Regions from separate parts of the Homo sapiens genome. Here all the other regions are linked to region 5. Evidence: promoter capture Hi-C in 16 types of primary human blood cells and fetal thymus (Javierre and others, 2016). All regions are on one chromosome and are shown on one strand. Each heading gives the region's core, a stretch centred on a gene start or on the middle of the fragment in contact. The rest is flanking DNA. Distances are from core to core; before and after follow the strand shown. Region 1 overlaps USP34 (ubiquitin specific peptidase 34). Region 2 has its middle 60 kb from the start of PAPOLG. Region 3 overlaps USP34 (ubiquitin specific peptidase 34). Region 4 has its middle 43 kb from the start of PAPOLG. Region 5 holds the start of SANBR (SANT and BTB domain regulator of CSR). Region 6 overlaps XPO1 (exportin 1). Region 7 overlaps USP34 (ubiquitin specific peptidase 34).

The links. The method cuts DNA at HindIII sites, captures the fragments that hold promoters and counts their contacts. A CHiCAGO score of 5 or more calls a contact.
Region 1: a contact is called between a fragment that was not itself captured here and the fragment with the promoter of SANBR in region 5, in 1 of 17 cell types (M2 macrophages). The highest score is 5.9, in M2 macrophages.
Region 2: a fragment that was not itself captured here is called in contact with the fragment with the promoter of SANBR in region 5 in 1 of 17 cell types (activated CD4 T cells); the score reaches 5.4 in activated CD4 T cells.
Region 3: a contact is called between a fragment that was not itself captured here and the fragment with the promoter of SANBR in region 5, in 1 of 17 cell types (M2 macrophages). The highest score is 6.3, in M2 macrophages.
Region 4: a fragment that was not itself captured here is called in contact with the fragment with the promoter of SANBR in region 5 in 2 of 17 cell types (monocytes and M2 macrophages); the score reaches 6.5 in monocytes.
Region 6: a fragment that was not itself captured here is called in contact with the fragment with the promoter of SANBR in region 5 in 1 of 17 cell types (M0 macrophages); the score reaches 5.1 in M0 macrophages.
Region 7: a contact is called between a fragment that was not itself captured here and the fragment with the promoter of SANBR in region 5, in 1 of 17 cell types (M2 macrophages). The highest score is 6.0, in M2 macrophages.

The regions. Positions count from the first base shown.
Region 1 is chr2:61,461,054-61,464,191 of GRCh38, reverse strand. All of the region lies in intron 1 of USP34 (ubiquitin specific peptidase 34), which reads left to right. Among named protein-coding and RNA genes, the nearest start is that of USP34, 8.5 kb to the left of the region's middle. The HindIII fragment of the contact is 4,536 bases long and covers 1-3,138 here.
Region 2 is chr2:60,694,547-60,697,608 of GRCh38, reverse strand. No RefSeq gene overlaps it. Among named protein-coding and RNA genes, the nearest start is that of PAPOLG, 60 kb to the left of the region's middle. The HindIII fragment of the contact is 1,444 bases long and covers 711-2,154 here.
Region 3 is chr2:61,420,031-61,423,300 of GRCh38, reverse strand. It overlaps USP34 (ubiquitin specific peptidase 34), which reads left to right. Exons shown (of 80, transcript NM_014709.4): 2 at 2,468-2,555. Among named protein-coding and RNA genes, the nearest start is that of SNORA70B, 4.3 kb to the right of the region's middle. The HindIII fragment of the contact is 741 bases long and covers 1,172-1,912 here.
Region 4 is chr2:60,712,159-60,715,294 of GRCh38, reverse strand. No RefSeq gene overlaps it. Among named protein-coding and RNA genes, the nearest start is that of PAPOLG, 43 kb to the left of the region's middle. The HindIII fragment of the contact is 6,738 bases long and covers 1-3,136 here.
Region 5 is chr2:61,064,086-61,067,279 of GRCh38, reverse strand. It overlaps SANBR (SANT and BTB domain regulator of CSR), which reads right to left and starts at 1,409. Exons shown (of 22, transcript NM_001129993.3): 1 at 1,253-1,409. RefSeq lists silencers at 810-869, 880-1,229, 1,260-1,629 and enhancers at 519-1,018, 1,019-1,520. The HindIII fragment of the contact is 4,406 bases long and covers 1-3,194 here.
Region 6 is chr2:61,500,047-61,503,062 of GRCh38, reverse strand. It overlaps XPO1 (exportin 1), which reads left to right. Exons shown (of 25, transcript NM_003400.4): 5 at 753-814; 6 at 1,023-1,067. Among named protein-coding and RNA genes, the nearest start is that of USP34-DT, 30 kb to the right of the region's middle. The HindIII fragment of the contact is 803 bases long and covers 1,075-1,877 here.
Region 7 is chr2:61,390,835-61,394,279 of GRCh38, reverse strand. The region is part of intron 5 of USP34 (ubiquitin specific peptidase 34); the gene reads left to right. Among named protein-coding and RNA genes, the nearest start is that of SNORA70B, 25 kb to the left of the region's middle. The HindIII fragment of the contact is 940 bases long and covers 1,580-2,519 here.

The sequences.
Region 1 (3,138 bases), core at 173-2,672, 400 kb before region 5:
GCCTGCCACCACGCCCAGCTAATGTTTGTATTTTTAGTCGAGACTAATTTTCACCAGTTTGGCCACACTGGTCTTGAACTAATGATGTCAGGTGATCCACCTGCCTCGGCCTTTCAGTGTGTTTTATTTTTAAAGCAGATTACTTTATTGAATAGTTTGTGTTGGGTACTTAAGTACTTTACATGCTTTGCATGCTGCTGATTTAATCAGTTCTTTGAGGGAGGTACTCTGTCATCCTTTTCAGATGAGGGAACTAAGGTTTAGAGAATTTATGTGACTTGCTTAGGGTCACATGTGACTGTTTGGTGGAACCACAGGACTTAATCCCAGATTAGGCTAAGAGTTTTTTTTTTTTTTGAAAAGGAATTTTGTTCCTGTTGCCCAGGCTGGTGTGCAATGGCATGATCTCGGCTCATTGCAACCTCCGCCTCCTGGGTTCAAGCGATTCTCCTGCCTCAGCCTCCTGAGTAGCTGGGATTACAGGCATGCACCACCATGCCTGGCTAATTTTTGTAATTTTAGTCGATGTGGGGTTTCACCATGTTGGCCAGGATGGTCTTGAATTCCTGACCCCAGGTAATCCGCCTCCCTTGGCCTCCCAAAGTGTTGGGTTTAGGGGTGTGAGCCATCCTGCCTGGCCTAAAAGTTCTTACTAGTTAACATTGTATAAATTTTATGATGATCTATCTGAATCACCACTGTTCAGTTGGCAAAGTGAAAATTACTGACCGTGTTTTATGTATCTTCAAAAATTCAGACAAATTTCTGTGATAATTGTAGTAGGAATTCAAAAGTGGTAATAAGTATAGCTGAATAAGAATCTTTTTCATTGAATAAAATTTCAAATTTTTTGATTTTTGATTATTTTTTAAGAGACAGTGTATCACCCATGCTGGGGTGCAGTGGCCCAATTATAGCTCACTGCAGCCTCAAGCTCCTGGGCTCAAGTGATGCTCCTGCCTCAGCCTCCCAAAGTGTTGGGGTATGCTGTACCCGGCTGAGAATCTTTCTTAATACTGTTATTCTGCAGTGAACCGTTTAATAAAACTACATGTTTCCAGAGCTTTTTAGATACTATGAGTATATAGGTACGAAATCAATTAGTAACATAACTTTTTCAGTAGACATTTAATCTAAAGTTGGAATTTTTTTCCCCCCTTTGGAGATGGAGTCTTATTCTGTCATCCAGGCTGGAGTGCAATGAAGTGATTATTGCTTACTATAACTTGACCTCCTGGGCTCAAGTGATTTTCCTGTCTCACCCTCCTGAGTAGCAGGGACTATAGGTGTGTATACCAGCACACCTGGCTGCCTTTTTTTTTTTTTTTTTGGGAAACAGTTTCCCTCTGTCTCCCAGGCTGGAGTGCATTGGTACAGTCTCGGCTCACTGCACCCTCTGCCTTGGGGGGCTCAAGCAGTTCTTGTGCCTCACCCTCCCAAGTAGCTGGGATTATAGGCATGTGCCATCATGCCGGGCTAATTTTTGTATATTTAGTAGAGATGGGGTTTCGCCATGTTGGTCAGGCTGGTCTCAAACTCCTGGCCTCAAGTGATCCGCTTGCCTCAGCCTCCCAGAGTGCTGGGATTACAGGGTGTGAGCTACTTTGTCCGGTTCTCCTGAATTGATTTTTTTTTTTTTTTTGGAGACGGAGTCTTACTCTGTGGCCCAGGCTGGAGTGCAGTGGCATGATCTTGGCTCACTTCAACCTCCTCTTCCTGGGTTCAAGCAATTCTCCTGCCTCAGCTTCCCAAGTAGCTGGGATTACAGGTGCGTACCACCATGCCCAGCTAATATTTGTGTTTTTTGTAGGAATGGGGCTTCACTGTTTTGCCCAGGCTGTTCTCAAACTCCTAGCCTCAAGTGATTCACCCACCTCGGCCTCCCAAACTGCTGGGATTACAGGCATGAGCCACCACGCCTGGCTGATTTTCTTTTTTTTTTTTTTCCCCCTGAGATGGAGTCTTGTTCTGTTGCCCCAGGCTGGAGTGCGATGGCCTGATCTTGGCTCACTGCAACCTCCGCCTCCCGGGTTCAAGCGATTTTCCTGCCTCAACCTCCTGGGTAGCTGTGATTACAGGCAACTGCCACCATGCCTGACTAATTTTTGTTACGTTTAGTAGAGATGAGGTTTCACCATGTTGGCCAGGCTGGTCTTGAACTCCTGACCTCATGATCTGCCCACCTCGGCCCCCTAAAATGCTGTGACTACAGGTGTGAGCCACCGCGTCTGGCTGAAAACATGTTTTTGTATAAGATTTCATTTTATATAAAATTTAATATATCTGTTTCCAGTTCTCCCATATTATGAATAATGCCGCAAATGTACATCTTTCTACTTAAATCTTTTATCTACATCCCTGGTTCTTTTAGATTTCTAGACGTGAGTTTACTGTGTCAAAAAATATAAACATTTTTCATTATTTTCATACTGTTTGCTTGCCAGAAAGGATATATTGATCTTTTAGTCGTAGTCGTGCCTGTGTAAGGGCACTTTCACCTGTCTTGAATATTATCCTTTAGAAAGTGTTATTTTAGCAGGGCATGGTGATGTGTGCCTGTAGTATTCCCAGCTACTCAGGAGGCTGAGGTGGGAGGATCACTTGAGCCCTGGAATTCAAGGCTAGCCTGGGCAACATAGCAAGACTTCATCTCTTAAAATAAAAGTTATTTTGGTAGAGAATGTATTAAGCAATTACTAGTAAATTTAACCATTCATATTTTTGTTATTTAATGAATTGTATGTTTTTTTTTCTGTATTTCAGATTTCAGTGTTTTGGGTTTTTTTTTTTATTTTTTTGAGGCGGAATTTCGCTCTTGTTCACTAGGGTGGAGTGCAATGGTGCCATCTCGGCTCACTGCAACCTCTGCCTCCCAGGTTCAAGTGATTCTCCTGCCTCAGACTCCCGAGTAGCTGGGATTACAGGGGCCTGCCACCATGCCTGGCTAATTCTTTTGCATTTTTAGTAGAGACAGGGTTTCATCCTGTTGGCCAGGCTGGTCTTGAACTCCTGAGCTCAAGTCATCCACCTGCCTCAGCCTCCCAAAATGCTGAGATTACAGTTGTGAGCCACCCTGCCCGGCCCCTCTTACCTTCTTTCAAAATTCAAAGCTCGCTTTTTTTCTAACTTGTAAGTTTT
Region 2 (3,062 bases), core at 183-2,682, 370 kb after region 5:
CTTCTTCCTGGAAGAACTCTGTTCTACTCAATGAGAACAAAACAGCTCCCTCCTGGGAAAGCTCTTTTCAAAAGTAAGTGCATACATAGCCTGGCCACATAGTTGGTGTTTATAGTGGCGTTACATTTATTAAAGACATTCAGGCCGGGCGCAGTTGCTCATGCCTGTAATCCTAGCACTTTGGGAGGCTGGGGCAGGCAGATTTCACCAGCCTGGCCAACATGGTAAAACCCTAACTCTATCAAAAATACAAAAATTACCCGGGTGTAGTGGTGCACGCCTGTAATCCCAGCTACTCAGGAGGCTGAGGCAGGAGAGTCGCTTGAATCTGGGAGGCGGAGGTTGCACTGAGCAGAGATCATGCCACTGCACTCCAGACTGGGCAACAGAGCAAGACTCTGTCTTAAAAAAAAAAAAAGAATAAAGGAGAGAGCAGGCCGGGCGTGGTGGCTCACGCCTGTAATCCCAGCACTTTGGGAGGCCGAGGCGGGTGGATCACGAGGTCAGGAGATTGAGACCATCCTGGCTAACGCGATGAAACCCCATTTCTACTAAAAATACAAAAAATTAGCCGGGCGAGGTGGTGGGCGCCTGCAGTGAGCTGAGATCACGCCACTGCACTCCAGCCTGGGTGACAGAGTGAGACTCAGTCTCAAAAAAAAAAAAAAGGAGAGAGCCCTGAATTTCTAACTCAACTTCTCAGGGAAGCTTCAAATGTCCCTATATCTTCTTGGATTTTTAAGTGATATCCAAGTAAGTGAGACAAAGATTCTCTGGGATCTAATAGGGCAATGAAGGCAGATATTTTAATGAAGGTGAGAAATTGTGGGTTTGGACACAGGTAGCACTTTTTGATACTCATTGATGAGCTTAAGAATCTCAAAGATATTCAGGAAGTTTAAAAGGCCTTGTAGAAAAAAGGGGTTTTCAGGGACAGAATTATGGTGTCCATAAGAAAACACATCACATACACCAACCCCCTGAAATAGCTAACCTTTGCCTAAGGATGCAAAACAGACTTTCTTGGATTTCTCAGTAAATCCCTGAGGTAATAGGGTACGCTGAACACAGTGAATATTTAAAGAAAGGATCTCTTTGGAGCTTCTGCCAATAAAATATTCTCTAAGTCAAAGAGTAGCCTCACCTCTCAGCTTCTTAATAATGAAAGTGCTGGTCAGAGTAACAGCCTTTGGGCATCCTCAGTGTTAGGAAAAGACTGACCAGTGCTTGTGTATCCTCTAGGAAAGTGTTCTTTTCTCATGCTTTAAAAAATTAATTTCCCCCAGTCTTGATCAGGGGACTATAATTTTGAAAAATTCTACATTTCACTTTAGAACTACTTATTCTGCCAATCTTGATGAAAATAGTGACTGTCTCCTACTGAAGAGTGGAAGGCTTCTTATAGCTGTGTTAAGAACAAGAAAGGATTCTTCTTTTTCTTTGTTCTTTTGCAATAAATTAGAAACAAATGGTTAACAATAAGATGTAAAAATATTAGAGAAAATGTTGAAAGGAGAAAATAAGCCACTCATAATTATGTTGCCTGAGCATAGCAGTTACTCTTTTTGTTTTTGAATGTTGCCTGTTGGCCTTTACTTAAATATGTACATATTTTGGGCATAGTTGCAAGAGATGTTTTTGGCAAGTATTAAGTCACTTTATGTATATTTCGTGCTAGGTCTTTAAGGAATGGGTTTTTTCTTTTTAAAAGTCATCATATGCTGCTAATATGTTTTAAAAGCCATGCCTTAACATATCTTAACTATCATCTTACTTCATTACGGGAAATGCGTTTTCTTCTGGTCATAGACGTTTAGACCAATTGCTTTTTGGGGTTATTCCTAGTTTTGATACAGAAGCCCCATTATCATCCCCTCTTTATCTAGTGTGACATATAGACATGCATTCAGGTGACCTAAAAGTCGTATCTGTCTATTAAAGTACAGGTTAAACAGAAAAGGGGCTAAAATAATAGCCCCATTTCTTGCTCCTTGAGATTGTGATGTTATCTATCATAAGATAATGTTTGCCCACAAACGTTATCAAAAAGTATCAAAACACTTCTCAAAAGTGTTGATAGCTGGGGAGGCTGTGCTTGGTTAAATCTTCCGGACCTTAGCTGATACCTCTCTATGGGAGTAATCAGTGAAAGCTTCAAAGTGTCATATTACTTGTGGCTTTGCATTTTCCATTTATTTATTTATTAATTTATTTATTTTGAGACAGGGCCTCGTTCTGTCAGCCATGTTGGAGTACAGTGGCATGATCACGGCTCACTGCAGCCTTGACTTCCCAGGCTCAAGTGATCCTCCCACCTCAGCCTCCCGAGCAGCTGGTACTACAGGCGGGTAATTTTTGTATTTTTTGCAGAGACGGGGTTTCACCATGTTGCCCAGGCTGGTCTCGAACTCCTGGACTCAGGCAATCTGCCGCCCTTGCAAAGTGCTGGGATTATAGAAGTGAGCCACCAAGCCCAGCCATACTTGTGGTTTTTTAATCTGTAAAGTTAAAAAAGGCATAAAGGGCCAGGCACCATGGCTCATGCCTGTAATCCCAGCACTTTGGGAGGCCGAGGCAGGCAGATCACTTGAGGTCAGGAGTTCCAGACCAGCCTGCTCTACATGGTGAAACCCCATCTGTACCAAAAATACCAAAATTAGCTGGGTGTGGTGGTGCACACCAGTAATCCCAGCTACTAGGGAGGCTGAGGCAGGAGAATCACTTGAACCCGTGAGGCAGAGGTTGCAGTGAGCCGAGATCATGCCACTGCACTCCAGCTTGGGCAACAGAATGAGACCGTAACACAAAACAAAATAAAATAAAATAGGCACAAGGGTACGTAATGATAGATGAATTTGAGAGGCGTTTTAGGGAAAGTCTTCACTTGTTGGTGGTCCATTTTACCTAACCTCTGATTAGTTATCTAGCATTTCAAAGTGCTGGAATTACAGGCGTGAGCCACCGTGCCCGGCTGAGATTTGCCAGCTTTCTTTGCAGCTAGGTGTGGCCATGTGATCCTCCCACCTCAGCTTCCCAAGCAGCTGAGTTCTGGCCAGTGGGAT
Region 3 (3,270 bases), core at 293-2,792, 360 kb before region 5:
CTCTCTACAAAATACAAAAACTAGCCAGGCGTGATGGTGGGCACCTGTAATCCCAGCTACTCAGGAGGCTGAGGCAGGAGAATCGCTTGAACCTGGGAGGCAGAGGTTGCAGTGAGCCAAGATTGTGCCACTGCACTCCAGCCTGGGCAAAAGAGTGAGACTGTCTCAAAAAACCAAAAATTTAAAAAGACAAAAGTATATCTGATTTTTGTGTTTTGAATTTGTATCCTGTAACTTTGTTGAATTCACTTATTTTTTGTTTGTTTGTTTTTGAGAGGGGGTCTCACTCTGTTACCCAGGTTGGAATGCTGAAATGCAAACTGCAGTTTAATGGAAGCCACTGATTTTTTTCGGCTCACTTCAGCCTTAACCTTCCAGGTTCGAGTGATCCTTCCACCTCAGCCTCCTCAGTAGCTGGGACCAGAGGTGTGCACCACCATGCCTGGCTAATTGTTTATATTTTTCGTAGAGATGGGGTTTCACTATGCTGCTCAGGCTGGTCTTGACCTCCTAAGCTCAAGTGATCTGCCCGCCTTGGCCTTCCAAAGTGCTGGGATTACCGGCTGTTAGTTCTAACAGTTCTTCTTGTGTAATCCTTAGGGTTTTCTGTTGGTTCATGTTATCTGTGGACAGAAGTGACTTGATTTCTTTCCATTTTCTTCCTCATTGAATTGCTCTGACTAGAATTTCTAATACTGTGTTGAATAGAAATTGTGAAAGTGACCACCTTATCTTGGTCCTAATCTTAGAGGAAAAGCTTTTGGGCTTTCACCTTTGAGTATGATGATAGCTGTGTGTTTGGAGAACTCTACTCTGATGAAATGTCCTTCACTTGCCTTTCTGGTTCTGGGTTGGATGGAATGAGTTGGAAAGTTTTTGTTGGTTAGCAGCTAGGCTGTCAGGCGGGCCTCTGGTGAGGATGGTTTTCTGGCCACACAAACTTTTTTTCAGAATGTGTGCCGTGTGTGTTTTTTGTTAGAGTAGGATATGATGGTTGTAGCCACTCTTCCCTCTGTTTTTAGGCACTGTTATGGCTGGGGAAGGAAAACTGGCATGGCGTACTGTGATCCCTTCTTCACCTTGTTGAAATCATACAATGCAAGAGGTTGTTTTTAGTGGTTGCTTCATCTTAGGCCCCAACTATATCTTATTCTGTCCTAGTTGCTAAGCTTTGTTGCCCAGGTCTTCTCCCTGATGGTCAGTAGTGTCTTCGGCTTCCAGGGCCTCAGATGTGATCTAGGTCCCAAAAGCCTGGTCTTGGGTGTAGGTGTTACTACCTTGTGACTGTTTTACATGTATTTTGGCCTTACGCCGTTTCCTTTTCTCCTTGACCAAGGTAATTTTTTTTTAAACCCCTTTTTGGTTAATCAGTATTACCAGAGAGGAATCTTCCAACCTCCTAGTTCAGCTTACCAGCATTTCTGGAGCTGAGTTGAGGAAGTGTGCTGTAAGTCTCAACATTGTGTATGTAGTCTGATTAAGTAGAAGGTGCGCGCGCGCGCGTGTGTGTGTGTGTGTGTGTGTGTTTTAAATGTAAACTAACCTCATATATATTTGGTACAGGAAACTTACTGGTATAGTAGGACATATTACTGCTTCATAGGGGATTTCCCCTCCTCACGTTAATGTGATACAGTGATCCAGGCAAGATTTCTTGGGATTAAAGAGAAGACACTAGCAATATATAAAGAAACAGTAAGAAAGCTGATAAGCCTCAAAAATGCTTTCTTGTACATACATAATAATTGGTTTAGTGGCTTCAAAGACCCTTATGTTTTCTACTTTGTAAAGCTGTGTGGACCAGCCAAAGAAGGTAAAAGCCATTAAAATGATGGAATTATAAGAATGGTTATGTTCAATTTTTATTATTTTGGGAAATGGTCTTTTAATGAGAACTGAATGTTCTCAAGCTTCCTCATATCAAAAGAGGAACGCCGTGTGAAGGAAGCTGTGACTTCAAGGAAGGTATGCTCTGTGGCTACTGCTGATACCTCTGAGAGGAGTACCATGAGACTGGTTCTTGGAATACTAAGCTGGAGGCTGGAATCAGTGCTGCTGCTTTCAGATATAGCAAGCTGACAAGTCTTTGGTCTCTCCTCCTGCCTTCTTCTTCTAGTACCCTATAGGCACTGGAGAACAAGATCTTAACAGGAAGACAGCTGGAAATGAAAAATGTAGATTGCATGGTCCCAGCCTCAGCATCACAACGGAAGGCTGGTTTTGGAGATGAGAGATAATCCCAGAATAAGTGGCAAAGTCTCACTGCCCCCCCCACCCCTTACATCTGTCAAAAATCTGTTCTTAAGTCCATATGAGTTATTAATTAAAAGTAGACTTATTTTCTTTGGAAGCAAAAGAATGATTATCTGAAATGTTTGCATTTGTAGCTCTTGGCTTTATTTTGAACTGTTGGCTTTAATACTGGTTTAGCATTATTCATAATTTTAAAATTTCTTTTTTATTTCAGTATCAGATGTAGAAGGTGGTGATGGACTGCAGCTCAGAAAGGAACATACTCTCAAAATATTTACTTATATCAATTCCTGGACACAGAGGTATGCATCTTTAGGTATTTCGAAGACTAATTTTTGTGAGTTGTGTTATAAGTTGCGATTTTTATTGTCACATTTTCTTTTTAGGGTGTTGGGTTAGATACCATTAGTTACTAAATGACAGTTTGTCAATATTTATTAAATCTTTACTCATGAGGTCGATCATGATTCTGTTTTTAAAACATGGGCATAAATATCAGTTTCTTTCTTTGACCCCTGCTTATTTAGGGATATGAGAGTCACAGAAATTCTGAAAAGTAACTATTTTGAGAGATTAAATAATTTTTATGGTATAGCTAAAGGCTTGTAACAATCTTAATCCTTAAAAAAGAAAAGTCATTGTGGTAGGGGATACTTTTAAGCCACTTAATATCTGTTCCGTTTCTATAATTATGTGTATTAGACCAATTTCTAAATAATACATATATTGAGACTATAGGAAATAAAATTTTAGGAAAACATGTTAATATAATCAAAGTTTATAAAAAGGATTCCTGTTCCTCAATGTGATTTTAACTAGTCTTTGCTAATAATTTTTTTCCCTTGAATAAACCAATGAAAATAAAAATTACTTTAACTTAAACTTAGTCCTTCTAAAAAATTTTATGGGTAAGAATGTTTGAAGCATTGTGTGCAGTAGCCAATGAACATGTTAAATGCAGTGATACATAAATGAATGTTCTGAGGTATACAGTCTAGCTGAACATAGAGTTTAGCT
Region 4 (3,136 bases), core at 602-3,101, 350 kb after region 5:
GTGCTGGGATTACAGGTGTGAGCCACCATGCCCGGCCTATTATTATTATTTTGAGATGGAGTCTCGCTCTGTCACCCAGGCTGGAGTGCAGTGGTGTGATATCTGCAACCTCCGCCTCCTGGGTTCAAGCAATTTTCCTGTCTCAGCCTCCTGAGTAGCCAGGACTACAGGTGCCCGCCACCACGCCTGGCTAATTTTTGTATTTTTAGTAGAGACAGGGTTTCACCATATTATTCTGGCTGGTCTTGAACTCCTGACCTCAGGTGATCCACCTGCCTGGGCCTCCAAAAGTGTTGGGATTACAGGCATGAGCCTCCGCGCCGCCTGAACTGTTAGTCAATTAAGCCTCTTTCCTTTATACATTACCCAGTCTCACATATGTCTTTATTAGCAGCATGAGAACAGACTAATATACCCCCTTTCATCAGTCTTTAATAGTGAGGAGAAACTACCCTGTTGGCAAATTGTTTCCGGTTTCTGGGTGGGATTGGTAGAAAGCCTTCTCTTCCATGCCCTGCTGAAAGGCTGATCTCCCTAATAACTGCAAGCCATAGGCTAGGGCACTTCTGAAGGCCTACTATGTGCAAACACTGTTCTAAGTGCTTCCACCTTAATTGGCTTCTTTTTTTTTTTTTTTTGAGACAGAGTCTTGCTTTGTCACCCAGGCTGGAGTGCAGTGGTGCGATCTCAGCTCACTACAACCTCTGCCTCCTGGGTGCAAGCGATTCTCCTGCCTCAGCCAACCGAGTAGCTGGGATTACAGGCACCTGCCACAATGCCTGGCAATTTTTTTTTTTTTTTTTAGTAGAGACAGGGTTTTACCATGTTGTTCAAGCTGGTTTCGAACTCCTGACTTCAAGTGATCTGCCCACCTCAGCCTCTCAAAGTGCTGGGATTATAGGCATGAGCCACTGTGCCTGGCCCTCTTAATTAGTTTATTTAATCCTCTCTACATCGCCACAAGATAGGTACTACTATGATCACTATTTTACAGGTGAGCAAATGAAGCACAGAGAGGTTAAGGAGGAACAGGGTTATCTGTTACAACTCTTCAGCAGGGCATTCTGGGCAGTTCTGTCTAACTTGTGAGAGGCAAGGGGACTATCTGTTAATTATTTGTTATCAATATTATTTTTTGAGCAGAGCCTTGCTCTGTCATCCAGGTTGGAGTGCAGTGATACAATCTTGGCTCACTGCAACTTCTGTCTCCTAGGTTCAAGTGATTCTCATGCCTCAACCTCCCAAGTAGCTGGGATTACAGGCATGCACCACCATGCCTGGCTAACTTTTGTATTTTTTAGGAGAGAAAAGGTTTCACCACGTTGGCCAGAATGGGCTTGAACTCCTGATCTGTACTAGTCTGTTTTCACGCTGCTGATAAAGACATACCTGAGACTGGGCAATTTACAAAAGAAAGAGGTTTAATGGACTTATAGTTCCACATGGCTGGGGAGGCCTCACAATCATGGCAGAAGGCAAGGAGGACCAAGTCACATCTTACTTGGATGGCAGCAGGCAAAGAGAGAGAGAGAGCTTGTGCAGGGAAACTCCCATTTTTAAAACCGTCAGATCTCATGAGACTTATTCACTATCATGAGAACAGCGCAAGAAAGACCTGCTCCCATGATTCAGTTATCTCCCACCAGGTCCCTGTCACAACATGTGGGAATTACGGGAGCTATGGGTGTGAGAGAGAGCCAAACCATATCATTCTGCCCCTGGCCTCTCTCAAATCTCTTGCCTTCACATTTCAAAACCAATCATGCCTTCTCAACAGTCCCCTAAAGTCTTTTTTTTTTTTTGAGATGGAGTCTCGCTCTGTCACCCAGGCTGGAGTGCAGTGGCGCAATCTCAGCTCACTGCAAGCTCTGCCTTCCGGGTTCATGCCATTCTCCTGCCTCAGCCTCCTGAGTAGCTGGGACTACAGGCGCCCACCACCACATCTGGCTAAGTTTTTGTATTTTTAGTAGAGACGGGGTTTCACTATGTTAGCTGGGTTGGTCTCGATTTCCTAACCTCGTGATCTGCCCGCCTCAGCCTCCCAAAGTGCTGGGATTACAGGCTTGAGCCACCGCACCCGGCTGTCCCTAAAGTCTTAACTCATTTCAGCATTAACTCAAAAGTCCACAGTCCAAAATCTCATCTGAGACAAGGCAAGTCCCTTCCACATATGAGGCTGTAAAATCAAAAGCAAGTTAGTTACTTCCTAGATACAATGGGGGTACACGAATTGGGTAAATATAGCCATTTTGAATGGAGTAAATTAGTCAAAACAGAGGGACTACAGGCCCCATGCAAGTCTGAAATCCAGCAGGGCAGTCAAATCTTAAAATTCCAAAATGATCTCCTTTGACTCCATGTCTCCTATCCAGGTCATGCTGATGCAAGAGGTGGGCTCCCACGGCCTTGGACAGCTCCACCCCTGTGGCTTTGCAGGTATAGCCCCTCTCCTGGCGGCTTTCACTGGCTGGCATTGAGTGTCTGCGGCTTTTCCAGGTGCACGGTGCAAGCTGTTAGTAGATCTAACATTCTGGGGTCTGAAGGATGGTGGCCTTCTTCTCACAGCTCCACTAGGTGGTGCCCCCAGTAGGGACTCTGTGTGGGGGCTCTGATCCCACATTTCTCTTCTGTGCTACCCTAGCAGAGGTTCTCCATGAGGGCCCTGTCCCTGCAGCAAACTTCTGCCTAAGCGCCCAGGCATTCTCATACATCCTCTGACATCTAGGCAAAGGTTAAAAAAAAAAAAAAAAAAAAAAAAGGCCAGGCGTGGTGGCTCATGCCTGTAATCCCAGCACTTTGGGAGGCCAAGGTGGGTGGATCACCTGAGGTCGGGAGTTCAAGACCAGCCTGACCAACATGGAGAAACCCCATCTCTACTAAAAATACAAAATTAGCTGGGCATGGTGGCTCATGCCTGTAATCCCAGCTACTCGGGAGGCTGAGGCAGGAGAATCACTTGAACCTGGAAGGTGGAGGTTGCGGTGAGCCAAAATCGAGCCACTGCACTCTAGCCTGGGCAACAAGAGCGAAACTGCGTCTCAAAAAAAAAAAAAAAGGTAAAATAATAATAGCAACAAAAACAAATCTTTCACGCCTATAATCCCAGCACTTTGGGAGGCTGAGGTGGGCCAATCAC
Region 5 (3,194 bases), core at 160-2,659:
ATTTATGCTATACATGTTTAAGAGTACTTTAAATCATCCAAATGAGAAAAAAGTTTTTCTGTTGACTTTCTCTTTATACAACTGTACTAGGCAAGGGAAGACCCCCCAGCATTAATTCTAGTTAAATGAATGTCCAAGAAATCAGAGTCTGAATTTAAGTATAAAAGGCATAGCATTGATGGATAATCCTTAATAAAACATAAATTATCTCGAAATAGCTGTTATAGTGCACCTCATTCAGGAAAGTATAAATTTATCAAAAACGGTGACAAGAAAAAGCTCAAAGTTCAAATTACTATGAAATCCACTCCCATTCATAAAATATCAAAATCTTGACAATATTTAAGGTAAAATACGTTATTTACCAAAAATAAAAATCCAATATGTTTAACAGACTTCATTTTTTAAGAACATACTTCCCCTCCCCTCCCCGACCCCCTTCTCTTGGTTTATGTATTTAATATACATGTATTAATTAAGAAGACTAGTCTAAGTCACTTCCACACCAGATAGAGGTCTACAACAGGAATCTGATATATTTTTTTCTTATTTCAAATAGAAAAAAAAGCTCTTGGAGACAGAGACGTTTTCCCTTAGCCAGTGGAAAGATGGGAAGAGAGGGGGCCCCGTGGGGCAGGCAGGCAGGCAGGTCAAAGGCCTCTGGCCTAACAGAGGGCGGCGGTAACACCGAGTCATCCCGGACCGGGAAGAAGCCTTGTACCCAGGCTTCCTGACTTCTGCACACACAGGAGATCGGAGTCAGCTGGAGGAGAAAGTAAAATCACATCCCAGAACCGGCATGAGGTCAAAGCCAGTCAAACCTTGGGCCCGGAGGCTCACTACGCGGCGCGTCCTCGGGGCACCCCCAGACCTTCGCGCCCCGCTCCCGCCCGTGGAGGCACAGAAACTCCAGGGGCGCAGAGCGGACAAAGGCGCCGGGCAGCGGGAGCGAGGCGGGGCAGAGGCCCGGGGCGCGGCCGGGCGCGCAGAAGCTGGGGTTCCCGCCGCTGTGCGCGGGCGGGACGGTCTGCAGGGACATGGACCGGGCGGGTGACGGGACGCGGGCCAGCTGGCTGCTCGAGGCGCGGCCGGCTGAGGCTGTGCACGGGGGCGTTCGGGGGCGTTTGGGCAAGTGGGACCCCGCCCGGGGTGGGAAGCCGCGGCGGGAGCCGGCTGGCTGTGAGCGGTACCGCCCCATGCCGCACTTCCCGCCCCGCGGTGGGCACCCGAGCCCCCTCGGCGTCTCGCTCACCTCCACAGGGCCGCGGCTGCCCTCGCAGCGCCTCTGTTACCTGCAGTGGTCGGCACCGCCCGCGCTCGCGCCCTGAAGCTGCCGCTACCGAGCCCGCAACCCCGTCCGCAGCGCCTCACACCCCGCCCCCGCCCGCTTGCAGGCGGCTGCGGAGACTAGCGCCGAGGGGTGGGGGAGCCGCCGAGCCGACGCCGCCCGGCCAATCGCGGGCCAGCGCCGCAGCGGCGGAGCCAATGAGCGCCGAGCCCCTGCCGGGCGGGAGGGCACCGGAGGGGCGGCGGCGGCTGACTGTCGCCTTGCCTTGCCTGCTGCTTCTCCTTCCTCCTCTGGCATACACTCCCAGGCTTGTCGCAGTGCAGCGTCCCCACCCTCCCAGCGTCTTGTCTCTTAGCAACCAGATCCTAGGAGCCTGATCTTAGGTGACCAACCCTGAGTCCAGAAGAAAGGGGGATATACAGGAGATAAAAGATTAAAGAATGGATGAAATTGTTCTTGGTGCAGATCATTTGGTACACCGCTTAGGTAGAGCGGAAAGATCGCATGATGAGGGACACCGAAAGTATCTTTTAGACCAAGGTCTTTGGGTAAGGACCTGAAGTGTCTTTACCAGGAGGTAGCTCTTTAAAAATGTAAATAGCTCTGGATTACAAATTCGGTTTTCATACATTAATAGGGTGTGTGTGTGTGTGTGTGTGTGTGTGTGTGTGTGTTATTGTGAGGAACACTACTATTGGGCATCTAGTAAAATGCAAACGGCTCAATATTGTAGGGTAACTGCTACATGTCAACATTTCTATCTAATTTCCACTTGGTCTATTCTGAGAACCAAAATTAAATGTTAGGATTAGAAAGAACAGAAAAAGTAAAGCCTTAACCAAATGAATAATTACTACGAGATCTGATGATTAAGTAGAGATTAAGTGGTTCACTGTACAGAATGTCAGGAGTTTTTACCAATTGTATCATCCTGTGACTTTCTGCAGATCTTTTACGATTTTTGTTCCACAAAGACATTAAAGTGGCTGGGTGCGGTGGCTCACACCTGTAATCCCATAATCCCAGCATTTAGGGAGACCAAGACGAGAGGATTGCTTGAGCACAGCCTGAACAACAAAGTGAAACCCTGTCTCTACCAAAAAAAAAAAAAAGTTGTTTTTTTTTTAAGTTAGCTGGGCGTGGTGGCCCCAATGAGCTATGTTTGCACCACTGCACTCCAAGCTGGGCAACAGAGTGAGACCCTGTCAAAAATAAAAATAAAAATAAAGTTAGGCAAGTGTCGTATCATAAGATGTTAGGTTAAGTCAGGTAAATTCTTTTTTTATTTTTTTGAGATGGAGTCTTGCTCTGTTGCCCAGGCTGGAGTGCAGTGGCACCGTCTGGGCTCACTGCAACCTCCACCTCCCTTCAAGCGATTCTCCTACCACAGCCTCCTGAGTAACTGGGATTTACAGGCGCATGCCACCATGTCCAGCTAATTTTTTGTATTTTTAGTAGAGATGGGGTTTCACCATGTTGGTCTTGAACTCCTGACCTCAGGTGATCTGCCCGCCTCGGCCTCCCAAAGTGCTGGGATTACAGGCGTGAGCCACCATGCCCAGCCAGGTAAATTATTATTATTTTTTTTTTGGAGACAGAGTTTCGGTCTTGTCACCCAGGCTGGAGTGCAATGGCGCGATCTTGGCTCACTGCAACCTCCGCCTCCCTGGTTCAAGTGATTCTCCTGCCTCAGCCTCCCGAGTAGCTGGGATTACAGGCGTGTGCCACCACACCCGGCTAATTTTTGTGTTTTTAGTAGAAATGGGGTTTCACCATGTTAGCCAGGCTGGTCTTGAACTCCTGACCTCAGGTGATCTGCCCACCTCAGCCTCCCAAAGTGCTGGGATTACAGGTGTGAGCCACCACACCCAGCCCCAGCCAGGTAAATTCTTAAACAGAAACTGCT
Region 6 (3,016 bases), core at 227-2,726, 440 kb before region 5:
ACCTGGGAGGCAGAGGTTGCAGGGAGCCAAGATTGTGCCACTGCACTCCAGTGTGTGTGACATAACAGGACTCCGTCTCAAAAAAAAAAAAAAAAAAGAAAAGAAACACATGGAACCAAATCAGGATGAAAGAAACTGGAATAGCAGTTTGTTATAGGCTGGGCTTGTTGGCTTGTTCCTGTAATTCCAGCACTTTGGGAGGCCCAGGCAGGAGGATCACTTGAGTCTATGAGTTTAAGACCAACCTGGGCAACAATGCCAGATCCCATCTTTAAAAATATGAATAGCACATTAAATTCATTGATTTTTTTTTTTTAAGTCTTGCTCTGTTGCCCAGGCTGGAGTGCAATGACGTGATGTCTGCTCACTGCAACCTCCACCTCCCGGATTCAAGTGATTCCCCTGCCTCAGCCTCCCGAGTAGCTGGGATTACAGGCACCCGCCACCACGCCCAGTTAATTTTTGTATTTTTAGTAGAGACAGGGTTTCACCATGTTGGTCATGCTGGTCTCGAATTCCTGGCCTCAGGTGATCCACCCACCTCAGCCTCCCAAAGAATTGCTGGGATTACAAGCGTGAGCCACCGCACCGGGCCGGAATTTTTTTAAAATGCCAATACTGGTGACAGGATTAGAGTATATTAACTGATTTTACTTAGTCTTTCCATTCCCACATTAATTAGTTCTCAAAATTTATTTGCATGCTACAAAAGAGCTCAACAATTTTTTTATTACGTGCAATTTTTTTAATAGGAATAAAAAAATACGTTGTTGGCCTCATTATCAAGACGTCATCTGACCCAACTTGTGTAGAGGTAAGAGTTTATTTTGGAGCTTATTGGGAGAGCATAAAATCATTTAGATATTGAGTCTGACTACAACCTAATTCTGTCAAGACACATAGTCACACATATGCACAGTCAGTCATTTACAGTAGAGCTGTAATCATTTGTTAGGATTGTCTGGTTATATTCTTATTTATACTTACCTCAGGCTCTCATTTAATCTTTTACTTTTCCTTAGAAAGAAAAGGTGTATATCGGAAAATTAAATATGATCCTTGTTCAGGTAAGCTTTAACTTAACTGTTTTCCTTAGAAGAATTATGCTTATTATTTGAACAAAATGTTCGACCTACTTAGGAAATAAAGTATACTAATATTTTGCAGAAGTAGTGATAGTATTCTTATAATAATAGGTAACCTACTGTCTAGTACTTGAATGTTAATTTGCTGTGGCAGTAATCATCAAATAACGTTAAAGCCATCATTTATGTGGCTGCAGTGTGGACTGGACTCTGTTGGATTCTTATTTATCTTTTCTTTTCTTTTTTTTTTTTTTTTGGAGACAGTCTCCCTCTGTTGCCCAGGCTGGAGTGCAGTGGCATGATCTCGGCTCACTGCAGCCTCTGCTACCCGGGTTCAAGCGATTGTTCTGCCTCAGCCTCCTGAGTGGCTGGAATTACGGGTGCTTACCACCACGTTTGGCTAATTTTTTGTATTTTTAGTAGAGACAGGGTTTCACCATGTTGGCCAGGCTGGTCTCAAACTCTTGACCTCAGGTGATCCACCCACCTCGACCTCCCAAAGTGCTGGGATTATAGGTGTGAGCCGCTGCACCTGGCCGGATTGTTTTTTAATTTTCTGATATGCCTGTGCATATTTCCTTTGCATGTATGTCTCTGAGTCCTTTGATTTCCTCGTCCTTCTAATTGATTTCCATGCTTAGTCCTTAAACTGTCTATGTAGACTAAATTTATAATTTTTATGTTTATCTGTTTTCTATAGTAATATCATAAAATTTTTTCCAGAGAACCCTGGTATGTGTGGGGGAAAAAACAGTAATTTCTATTTAAATAAGACTTAGAAACATCCAAGCTTCCAAAAATTTTAGTGTATTCAGTAATTAACTCCAGCTTTTATTATACTTTAGAGCTTTCTGTTAGCCCTTCTCTGAGTGGTGAGAGAGAGGAGAGAATATAAAGAAGGTTAACATGTATTTTTATAATCTGAAAAATCCCTTGTGTGTGCCATAAATAGTCCAGACTTGCATACAAATATAATGCAGTTCATGAGGCTTTTGGTTAAAAGTTTATTCAGGCCCCGATTGCAGTGCGTCCTCTCTTTTAAATTCATATATCCAAACCCTACTACATTTCAAGGCTCAAATTGCATCCAATAATAAGCTGTCTTAACCGGTCACTTTTTATCACCAATGGTTAATTAAATCCTTGAGTCTCCTAGGATAATTTCTTCTTTTCTTGTTTGAAATGGAGTGTCGCTCTGTCGCCCATGCTGGAGTGCAGTGGCACCGTCTTAGTTCACTGAAACCTCCACCTCCCAGGTTCAAGCAATTCTCCTGCCTTGGCCTCCCCAGTAGCTGAGACTACTGGCCCGCGCCACCACCCCTGGCTAATTTTTGTATTTTTAGTAGAGACGGGGTTTCACCATGTTGGCCAGGCTGCTCTTTTTTTTTTTTTTTTTTTTGAGATGGAGTCTCATCCTGTTGCCCAGCCTTGAGTGCAGTGGCCTGGTCTCGGCTCACTGCAACCTCTGCCTCCCAGGTTCAAGAGATTCTCCTGCCTCAGCCTCCCGAGCAGCTGGGATCACAGGCACACGTCACCATGCCTCGCTAATTTTTGTATTTTTAGTAGAGACAGGGTTTCACCATGTTGGCCAGGCTGGTCTTGAACTCCTGACCTCGTGATCCTCCTACCTCGGCCTCCCAAAGTGCTGGGATTACAGGCACGAGCTACCACGCCCAGCCTGGCCAGGCTGTTCTCAGACTCCTGGCCTCAAGTGATCTGCCCACCCTGGCTCCCCACAAAGTGCTGGGATTACAGGCATGAGCAACCGCGCAAGGCCTCCTAGAATAATTTCTACATATCTATCAGGCAGATACTAATACACAGACAGACCCATTAGACGGATTGGACCTTTCATTAGGATAATTGAAAAGGGTCCTGCGGTGATTAAGATAAAAGACTTTGTGTTTTGTTTTCTACCCAGTAGGGTGAAG
Region 7 (3,445 bases), core at 800-3,299, 330 kb before region 5:
AGGTTACTATTATAGTATGCCTGAATTCTCTTACACATGAAGATTGTAACATTTCTTCTTGCCTTTGAAAATAAGGTAATTCTTCTGTATCCTGTGAGTATCAGTTTCACTGTGAAGCACAGTGGATATGGAAAGAAAGATACTTTTATTTATTTTTTTGACACGGAGTCTCACTTTGTTCCCCAGGCTGGAGTGCAGTGGTGCAGTCTCAGCTCACTGCACCCTCCGCCTCCTGGGTTCAAGCGATTCTTCTGCCTCAGCCTCCCAAGTAGCTGGGACTACAGGCACGAACCACCATGCCCGGCTAATTTCTGTATTTTGAGTACATGTTGGCCAGGCTGGTCTCAAACTCCTGACCTCATGATCCACCCACCTTGGCCTCCCAAAGTGCTGAGATTACAGGCGTGAGCGACTGTGCCCGGCCCGGAAAGAAAGATACTTTTAAATACCTGTATATTAAAATTCATTCTTTAATAACCTATTCTGGTCATAATTTAAAAAATTGGTAAAGCAAAAGTTCAGTGTACCTTTACCAAACACTGAAATCTTGTGTAATGGAATTACCTTAATTAATAGCTAATATCAGATATTTAAATTATCTATAAAATAAAAATATTGGGTGAAAAGTGACTCAACCAAATATTTTGTTGCATTGTTTCCAATGCTGTGTGCTTTGCAGTGATGCGGTACATTGGAAACAGCACTGACATTACTAAAATTGGTAATAAATGATTACTATCAAGGTCATTTTTAGTTAAAAAATTCCACCCATTCTGATAGGTTGAAATTATTACATATAGTAGTAGTGTAGCATGTAGGTTAATAATGTTGCCTTTTTTTTTTTTTTTTTAGACGGAGTCTGGCTCTGTTGCCCAGGCTGGAGTGCAGTGGCATGATCTTGGCTCACTGCAACCTCCGTCTCCCAGATTTAAGTGATTCTCCTGCCTCAGCCTCCCGAGTAGTTGGGACTACAGGCGTATGCCACCATGCCTGGTTAATTTTTGTATTTTTAATAGAGATTGGGTTTCACCATGTTGGCTAGGCTGGTCTCAAACTCCTAACCTCAGGTGATCCTCCTGCCTCAGCCTCCTAAAGTGCTGGGATTACAGGCGTGAGCCACTTTGCGTGATCTGAGCCTTAATTTTTTTAATTTGCAAAATGGGAATGATGATGATATCCATCTACTTTAGAGGATTGTTTTGAGGTTTAAAATGAGAAAGATTTTAAACTCATAATGTAACACTTGACATATAAAGTGTGTAGTAACTGGTGGCTTTTACTAACTTCGGTTGTTACTAAATACCTAAGTGATCCTGTTATTCTGATTGAACTTATTTGTTTGATAGAAAGTTTTATGTACTTTGGCATTCTCTGAGAGAAAGTATCTCAATTTAGTTAACTGGAATGCTGGGATAACATTTTTATTTCACACTGTGGTAATTTTGGAGAGGGCATATAATTTTGAAACACCAAATTATCAAAGGGTTTACTTAATCAGGAATATTACATAAACCTGGATTAAACTGTTTCTTGAATTTATTTGTACTAATTCTTGTTTAACAGTCTAGTATGGAAAGCTTGTTAAAGACTTTATTACTATATCTTTAAAAGTTATCGTTTACAGGGTTTTTTCTTCCTTACTTTATCCGTTTTTTTGAGACAGAGTCTCACTCCGTCACCCAGGCTAGAGTGCAGTGGCACCATCTTGGCTCACTGCAGCATCCACCTCCTGGGTTCAAGCAGTTGTCCTGCCTCAGCCTCCCTAGTAGCTGGGATAACTAGTGCACGCTACCACACCCAGCTAATTTTTGTATTTTTAGTAGACCCGGGGTTTCGCCATGTTGTCCAGGCTGGTCTCGAACTCCTGACCTCCTGTGATCCGCCCACCTCGGCCTCCCAAAGTGCTGGGATTACAGGCTTGCAGGCTTGAGCCACCGCACCCGGCCTTTGTTTTGTTTTTGTTTTTGAGAGAGAGTTCTGCTGTGCGGTAGTAGCAGCTGACTGCAGCCTTGATCTCCCAGGCTCAAGCAAACCTCCCTCCCATGTCAGCCTCCCAAGTACCTGGGACTAAAGGTGCATGTCACCACGCCTGGCTAAATTAAAAATTGTTTTTGTAGAGATGGGGTTACGCTGTTGCCCAACCTGTGAAGTTATCCTTTACTAAATACAAAGGTTTAGGCTTAGATTCTGTTTTATCTTTCTCTTCAGCCCTTTTATGACTGCTAATTGGTGGGCTGTTGTCAATCTGCATAGTTTTCTTTATCTTGCAACTCAACTGAGGCCGTTAAAGCAAAATTATACTATTTAAATTAATATATTTTTTGAACACCGTAATACTATAATACTATATAATCTGTTTGTTAATTTTCTGAGAATAATAACTCAATGGAGTAACTCTTTAATAGGCATCTTTTCCTTATAAAAAATATTGTAGATTGGCTCTCTGCAAGCTAATTTCTTTTATATGGTTAATATTTTAGTGTACATTAAGAGCTTAGAGTTCTTTTTGTAATCAAGCTTGCTACAGAAGCTGTGCTTTATTTATTTCATAGTAATTTCCTCTAGTGGGTCATTGTATAAACCCTGATCATTTTTGTATGTCTATTCCTTTTCTTGCGAAGTGGGCAGCTTGTTTAGCCATGGTGTTTTGGCTTCAATAGGGTGAGGTCTCTATTTGGGAATCTCTGAATTTCACAGGAATGAGTAGAACTATATTTAACAATGAAAAAAATAGTATTAGATTTTAGGGCAGCCGTTTGTAAAGAAAAGAAAATAACTCATAAATCACTTTTGTGGCAGGAAAGATACGGACTAACGTTACTGAATACTTCTTTTTCTCTATTATACTAAATCACACATTCAGAAGAGAACATGTTTATAGCATTTCCTGGGACTCAGGAAATGATCCCATTCTGTTTATTTTCTAGTATGATTTCCTCCTCACTTAAAGAAAAAGCTATATATTTATTTTGAGACTGGCTAATTTTTGTGTTTCTGGTAGAGGTAGTGTTTCACCATGTTCCCCAGGCTGGTCTTGAACTCCTGGGCTCAAATGATCCGCCCGCCTTGGCCTCCTAAAGTGCTGGGATTACAGGTGTGTGCCATTGCACCTGGCTGATTTCCTCACTCTTACTGAGGCAAGGTAACTTTGTCAGATGGTGAGTGTTATTTTTTCGTTTTTTTTTTGAGCTGGAGTCTCGCTCTGTCACCAGGCTGGAGTGCAGTGGTATGATCCCTGCTCACCTCAGCCTCCGCCTCCCAGATTCAAGCGATTCTCCTGCCTTAGCTTCCCGAGTAGCTGGGACTACAGGCACGCACCACCATGCCCAGCTAATTTTTGTATTTTTAGTAGAGATGGGGTTTCACCATGTTGGCCAGGATGGTCTCAATCTCTTGACCTTGCGATGCCCCCACCTCAGCCTCCCAGAGTGCTGGGATTACAGGT